2 separate regions of the Homo sapiens genome follow, and region 1 is linked to region 2. Evidence: promoter capture Hi-C in human tissues and cell types (Jung and others, 2019). All regions are on one chromosome and are shown on one strand. Each heading gives the region's core, a stretch centred on a gene start or on the middle of the fragment in contact. The rest is flanking DNA. Distances are from core to core; before and after follow the strand shown. Region 1 overlaps CCDC57 (coiled-coil domain containing 57). Region 2 holds the start of SECTM1 (secreted and transmembrane 1).

Region 1 (3,678 bases), core at 466-2,965, 200 kb before region 2:
GGAGGTTGTAGTGAGCCGAGATTGCACCACTGCACTCAAGCCTGGGCAACAGAGCAAGACTGTCTCAAAAAACAAACAAACAAATGAGAACCAAAACCAAACCAAAACAAAACAAAAACCCAGCAGAAAACACATTGAAATGTTACTAATAACTATATCTGGATCCTGAAAATTGGAGGCTTTTTATATTGTGTTTATTGTAATCTGAAGTTTCTGTAATGAAAACGACACAATTAGGGAAATATTTTTAAAAATGCATGTCTTAGATGAAGGGGTGTTACCTGAGATGTAAAATGGGGCTGCACCTGTCCCAAAGGTGGGCTGCGATCCAAAGGCCTCCTGGGCTCCTCGCCTGGCTTCCGGGCCTCAGGGGCAGGAGGGAGGGCGTGGTGCAACAGCCACCCTGGGAATGGGATGGGGACAGAGTTTGTTCTCTGTGCATCACTTCTGGATTCCTCTTGTGTTGAATGCAAACACTCAGAAAGAACAGCATGTTCCTTTTCAAAACCAAAGTAACTTCCATTACATCGAGAACTTGGGGAGGGCCGGACAACAGTGAACTGTGACACACAGCATTTCGGTAGAGCTCTTGCACACACAATGCCACGCCCCTGCCACACACAGCCCTTGCTGTCCTCACAGCGGGGGCAGCAAGCACATTCGCTAACAGAAGCACCCAGACGCCCTTTCTGTGGCAGGCACAAAGAAGAAGCAAAAACTTGCCAGGTGCGGAGGCTCACGTCTGTAATCCCAGCACTTTGGGAGGCTGAGGCAGGTTGCTCACTTGAGGCCAGGAGTTCGAGATCAGCCTGGCCAACATGGTGAAACTCCGTCTCTACTAAAAATACAAAAATTAGCTGGGCGTGGTGGTGGGCACCTGTAATCCCAGCTACTCGGGAGGCTGAGGCAGAAGAATTGCTTGAACCCGGGAGGCAGAGGTTGCAGCGAGCCGAGATCATGCCACTGCACTCCATCCTGGGTAACTCCATCTCAAAAAGCAAGCAAACAAACAAACAAAAGAAGCAAAAGCTTAAGTATAACAACTTAAAAATGATGGTTCTACTCAAAGCTTCGGCATGCTAGCTTACTTAGAAATGACCCCACATCAAACGAGATCCTTTCATCAATTCCATTCATGTTATGTTATGTAAAGATCTGCTCCTTCTCTAAGCAGACACATCAGAAGACATAATTACTGAAATAACATTTCCCAGGATTACAAATCAGTTTCGTTAAACTCACTGAGGATTCCAACAAGGTTTTTGGAGGGTGTTTATAACTGTTGACATTTCACATATTGGAAATTGAAACAGACATTTTTTTTTTTGAGATGGAGTTTCGCTCTTGTCCCCCAGGCTGGAGTGCAGTGGCGCGATCTCGACACCCCCAGAACATCCACCTCCTGGGTTCAAGCAATTCTCCTGCCTCAGCCTCCCAAGTAGCTGGGATTACAGGCATGCGCCACCACGCCCGGCTAATTTTGTATTTTTAGTAGAGACGGGGTTTCTCCATGTTGGTCAGGCTGGTCTCGAATTCCCGACCTCAGGTGATCTGCCCGCCTTGGCCTCCCAAAGTGCTGGGAATACAGGTGTGAGCCATGTGCCTGGTCAAAACAGAAAAATTTTAAAGCTTTTTTATCAATTAACTTGAAGTTAGCCATGATGAACATATTGCTTATGATCAACATCTGAGGAGCATCGCAGGATTAGCTCTGCCCTGTGGACATCCCGAGATGGGCCCTCAAGTAAAGCATCAGTTTCTTCTACGCAATAAAAGAACCCAAAGATGACACTTGGAAATGAACGTGTTTCCCTTGGTTTATAAACACCTGAATTTAAAAGCCATGAAGTCAGAAGATGCACGTGTGGGCAAAAACCTCCTGAAGACACTCAACACCATTGGTCACCAGGAGAATGTAAAATCAAGCCCACTATGGGATCCCGCCTCACACCCACTAGGTTGGCTGGGATCAACAGGATAGAAAACAGCTGGGTGCGGTGGCTCACACCTGTAACCCCAGCACACTGGGAGGCCGGGTGGGGGGGATCCTTGATGTCAGGTGTTGGATACTGGCGTGGGCAACACAGTGAGATCCCACCTCTATTTTTAAAAGAAATTTTTTTAAATATAAAAAAAATAAAGTTTTTAAAGATATGCAATAAAAGTATTCTTAATTAAAAAAAACCCCGACAGAAAATAGCAAGTGCTGGTGCAGATGTGGAGAAATCAGAACCTTCGTGCGCAGCTGGTGGGCATGGGAGGCGGTTTGGTGGCTCCTTACCAGGTTAGACACAGAATTCCCACATGACCCAGCAAGGCCACTTCTAGGGAGGCATCCAAGAGAACTGAATGTTCACAGCAATATTATTCACAATAGCCCAAAGGCGGAAACCATCCAAATGTCCATCAAACTGATGGACAAATGCCTACAGTGGCCTGTCCCCCAGCAAAGAGCTCTTCCCATGGAAAGGAATTAAGTGCAGACGCCCCAGCACGAGGGACCCTCAAACAGGACACAGAGGGAAAGAAGCCAGGCACAAAGGGACACATCCTGTGGGATCCTGCTGAAGTGAAACGTCCAGAACAGGCAAAGGCATGGAGGCAGAATGTGGGTGCTGGGCGGGGGACAGGAAGCAACTGCGAATGAGTGTGGGGTTTCCTCTGAAGTGAAAGGAATTCTGGAACAAATGATGATGCTCGCACAACATTCTTGACGTGCTTAATGCACTGAACTGTATACTTTGTATACTTCATGAGCTTTCAACAGTACATTTTATATGTATAGTACCAAAAAAAAAAAAAAAAAAAGAAAACTAGTTTTTTTGAGACAGAGTCTTGCTCTGTCACCCAGGCTGGAGTGCAGTGGTGCAATCGCGGCTCACTGCAGCCTCCACCTCCTGGGCTCAAGCGATCCTCCCACCTCAGCCTCCCAAGTAGCTGGGACCACACCCAGCCAAGTTTTTTGTTTTTTAGTAGAGACAGGGTGTCACTATTCTGCCCAGGTTAGTCTCAAACTCCTAGCCTCAAGTGATCCTCCTCCCTTGGCCTCCCAAAGGGCTGGGATTAGAGGCATGAGCCACTGCACCCAGCTGAAAGCTAGGTCTTGTTTTCTCAATCCTTACTTGGTTGAAAGAAAGCTAGTTTTTTAAAAAGCCATGAAATGTGTTAAAATCTTAGCAAAGTTAGCCCAATTTTGATGGGTTTGTTTCCTTGGTGTACTACTTTTTTTTTTTTTTTTTTGAGACAGAGTCTTGCTCTGTCATCCAGGCTGGATGGAGTGCAGTGGTGTGATGTTGGCTCACTGCAACCTCCACTTCCCAGGTTCAAGCAATTCTCCCGCCTCAGCCTCTTCAGTAGCTTGGATTACAGGCACCTGCCACCATGCCCGGCTAATTTTTGTATTTTTAGTAGACAAGGGGTTTCACCGTGTTGGCCAGGCTGGTCTTGAACTCCTGCAAGCATCCTATGATCCGCCCACCTCGGCCTCCCGAAGTGCTGGGATTACCGGCGTGAGCCACTGCACCCAGCCTTCCTTCGTTTACTATTTATTGACTTCCCCTAAACTATGAAGGGTTATTCTTTACTTTCTATGTAATCTGTTCAGACAGCAAAGGTGCTGTCTTACCAGGGTAATTTTCCGTGCTTTTGTTGACTTATTATGTCTTGATGGTTTCAGAA
Region 2 (3,666 bases), core at 901-3,400:
ACTCTGCCCGTCTGCCTGAGTCCTCTCCTGCCATCCTCCTGACCAGAGGCGTGGGCTTGAGTTGAATGCCACGCAGTGGCTAAAAATCAGAGAGAGGGCAGGCGGCAGGGCGCGGCCCCAGGGAAAGTGGCCAGGTGGGCGGTGACTGGCCGGGCAGCTCCGTGTGTGGCACAGGGAGACCTGGCACAGGGAGACCAGGTACAGGGAGACGAGGCGCACGGAGCCTCAAAACTTCTAGAGTGGGCCGGGCGCGGTGGCGCATGCCTGCAATCCCAGCACTTTGGGAGGCTGAGGCAGGTGGATCACCTGAGGTCGGGAGTTTGAGACCAGTCTGAACAACGTGGTGAAACCCCGTCTCTACTAAAAATACAAAAAAATTAGCCGGGCGTGGTGGTGCACGCCTGTAATCCCAGTTACTTGGGAGGCTGAGGCAGGAGAATCGCTTGAACCAGGGAGGTGGAGGTTGTGGTGAGCCAAGATCTGGCCACTACATTCCAGCCTGGGCAACAAGAGCGAAACTCCGTCTCAAACCAAACAAAACAAAAAACAAACTTCTAGAGCGGGAAAAGATGGAGGCGGCAATCAGATTTCTCTCAAACCACGAACACAGGGGTCGGTATCTGAGGCGCCGGCACCAGACACGGCAGGGTCTGAGTGCTCCCTGACAAGCGATGATGCGCAGGCTTGGAGCCATGCCAGTGACACGCCTAGGAAAGTTCACGCACCGCCCAGCACGCCTGCGCATGCCTGTTCCCGCTCCCTGGTGCCCCGGGCGCCTGCCTGTCCCGGCTCCCATGGGTGCTGGGTGTGTGGAAGCTCCGGCCCCCTCGGGCTGGGTTCATTGGGGTCCTCCTGTGTGGTCAGTGGACTCTGTACCCCCACAGCACCTGAGGGGTGGCTGACACTGCTTTCCCAGCTGCTGCAGGGGCTCAGGGAACACAGGTGACCCCACGTCTCTACCGAGAATGAGCACACCAACACCTCTCAGAAGACAGCTGCAGCCTGCAGAGGCCATGGACCCCACCCAGGCCCACGGTGTGGACGGCTCTGCCCTGGTCTCTGCTGAGCCAGGCCCAGAGGGGACCCCAGGTGAGCAGCAAAGCCCCCCAGGCCTGGGGCTAGACCGGGCTAACCCTTCCTGCTCAGCACCTGTTCACCTGTCCCCTCTGCTGGTGGCCTCCTGTCCTCCCGCTCTGGGCTCAGCAGCAGCCCCGTGGAGAGGCCCTGCCACCACCCCCGCCCTGCTGGAGACAGGCCTCCTACGCGGGCTCCTGCAGCCGGTCGCCCTGGGCCTCCTAGAAGCCGGGGATCCTCTGCTGACCACCGGCAGAAAACGTGCTTCTCAAGCTGCAGGTGATTCACCAGTAGTGGGCAAGGAACTGAATGTGGTGATTACTGCGGAGTCAGCAAAACCCGCGTGAGAACGGGCAGCTGAGGGCCTGCCGGGTGAGGGAAGCCTCACGGTTCCTGTTTCATGAGTTTGCTGTGAGTGCACACGAGGCTGTGGCTGTGGAGTGTGCAACAGTCCACGCGTGCCTGCGTGTGCTCATGTGCGTGTGTCCACCAGCTTGTGTGCACGCATATGAGCGAGTGCGTTTTGCTCCCAGCTTGGTCGCAGCGACGGCGCAGGGAACCCCGGGTGAGGCCGAGGACCGGGAAGGGAGGAGGGGGCTCCGACCCATCGGACTTAGGGGAGCCCCGGGTCCGAGACGCCGCCTCTGTCCCTTCAAGAGTCGAGCCTGGCGCACAGGGCAGGGACGCGGGTCCCCACACCGGCCGGCAGCTCGTTCCCGCCCATACTCGGGTACGCCCGCTGCGACCCCGCCCGCCTGGCCTGCGACGCACGCTCAGGGCCAGCGGGGGGTGACGGTCCCAGAGGCAGAGGCGCCGCAGCCCCAGAGTCCCCATCCCTGCGCGGACCGGCAACCCCAGTGCACCAAGAGGCCCTAACACCGAGCCCCCAGCACCGAGTCCCCAGCACCGGGCCCTCAGCACCGAGTCCCCAGCACCGAGTCCCCAGCACCGAGTCCCCAGCACCGAGCCCGCCCCTCTGGTTCCCCCGCCCGCCCCTCTCCGCGCCTCACCGGGTCCGCTCCTGGACGCGCTCCTCTGGGATGCAGCTTCTCCGCGCCCCGGAGCCCCAGGAAAATGAAAGACACGAGAGGGAGGGGCCAGGGAGGAGGCGGCGGACCCGCGCGGGACCCACCTCCCAGATGAGGAAGGAGCTGGGTTTACGGGAAGCCTCCAAGTTTCGGGAACCACCCGCGTTCACAACAAGCGTGACGGTGAATTTATTATTTTCACGGGAGGCACCGCACCCGCGGTTCACGCTAAAGGAAGCAGGAAAGCCGCCGGGAGCATTTTTCCAGGAGAGTTCGTGCCTGGGCGGGTCCAGCTCGCGTGCGGCGCGCGTTCCCCGCGGGGCTGTTTGGCTCCGCTCCTGGAGGCCTCGAGTCTGTGCACGGGGCGAGCTGGGCGGGCCGAGTGGGCCGCGGGGAGGGAGGGCGGGGGGCGGCCCCCAGATGCCTGGGAGTGCGCGGGCAGAGTGAGCTGGACCCCCGGAGGGTCAGAGGCCCTTTCATAAAAGCGCGCAGAGCAGAGGAGTGATGTCCCCCAGCTCCCCCGCAGAGGGTCCTGCACCTGCGGCCTGGGCCTTCAGGCGTCCTGCGGCCCCTGCGGAGGTGCTGGCCTGGCCAGCCCGGGAGGAGGGGCCCAGCCTGTTGGGGCAGGAGATTGGGGTGCGGGTAGAAGGCTCCAAGACGCATCCGGGCCGGGAACCCACAGACATCCCAGGTGGGCAGGAGGTGGCTCGAGGAGGCCTGGAGGACCCGGCGCCTGGCGGGGTGGCAGGCGGGCCACGTCCTCCACTAGAACCCGAGGGGGCACGCGGGCAGGTGCGGGCGGGGTCAAGGATGACCAGGTATCTTCGGGACACTAGGAGGAGGCCCCACAGGCTGCAGTCACGTGAGTGGGCAAGTCCCCACCGGGCAGATGATGGGGGACACTGGGGCGTGGGCAATGCCCCCAGTTTCATGGAAGAGAGGAAGAAGCAGAACCAAACTCCGGGAAACCCTCAAATGTGGGGAATGGACGGAGCAGGGCCAGACTGGACGCTGAACCTTGGAGCCTGCAGCTCAGCCATCAGACCCAGGGTCCAGAGGTGGGTGGCACAGAACAAAGTCCCCCGGGATGTTCCAAAAGAGAAACTGTCGCCAAATTGGCAGGTGAAACACAGCCTGTCATCCTCCCAGCAAGACGGCACCATGGCCGGGGCACAGAGGTCAGATTCCCCAGCCCCCGCCCTCGGGGAAACCCCAGCCACCCTGGCTGCCAGTGAGATGCTGGAGAGGGGGCTGAAATCCCACCTGCCCACGTCCTCTGCACAGAGGGGCTTGTCCCCGAGGCCACATCCCCCAGCAGCCACAGCTTCCTTCTCCTTTTTTCCTGCCTACTAGATCTCTCAACTCAGAGGGGGCTGCAGTTCCTGGGGGCAGGGGGGTCCGGCTGCTTAGGCAGGAGCACCTGCACCGTGAGGCTCTGGAGGGCAGCTGAAGGCTGGCAGGCTTTTGTCCCGTGAGGGGACACCACTGGGGGTTGGAGGAAAACGCATATCCTGATAAAGCATTTCATGTTGTGAAAGTGAAACTAGTTTGTTTATTTTGGAAG

Evidence for each region. Contacts are between HindIII fragments. The study calls those that stand out against the background at their distance.
Region 1: a fragment that was not itself captured here is called in contact with the fragment with the promoter of SECTM1 in region 2 in 2 of the 25 tissues and cell types used here (liver and lymphoblastoid cells).

What each region holds. Positions count from the first base shown.
Region 1 is chr17:82,133,792-82,137,469 of GRCh38, forward strand. CCDC57 (coiled-coil domain containing 57) reads right to left here. Exons shown (of 19, transcript NM_001394669.1): 16 at 282-403. Among named protein-coding and RNA genes, the nearest start is that of FASN, 37 kb to the left of the region's middle. The HindIII fragment of the contact is 3,997 bases long and covers 1-3,678 here.
Region 2 is chr17:82,331,616-82,335,281 of GRCh38, forward strand. SECTM1 (secreted and transmembrane 1) reads right to left here and starts at 2,151. Exons shown (of 5, transcript NM_003004.3): 1 at 2,085-2,151. RefSeq lists a silencer at 494-778 and enhancers at 655-1,457, 3,505-3,574. The HindIII fragment of the contact is 16,320 bases long and covers 1-3,666 here.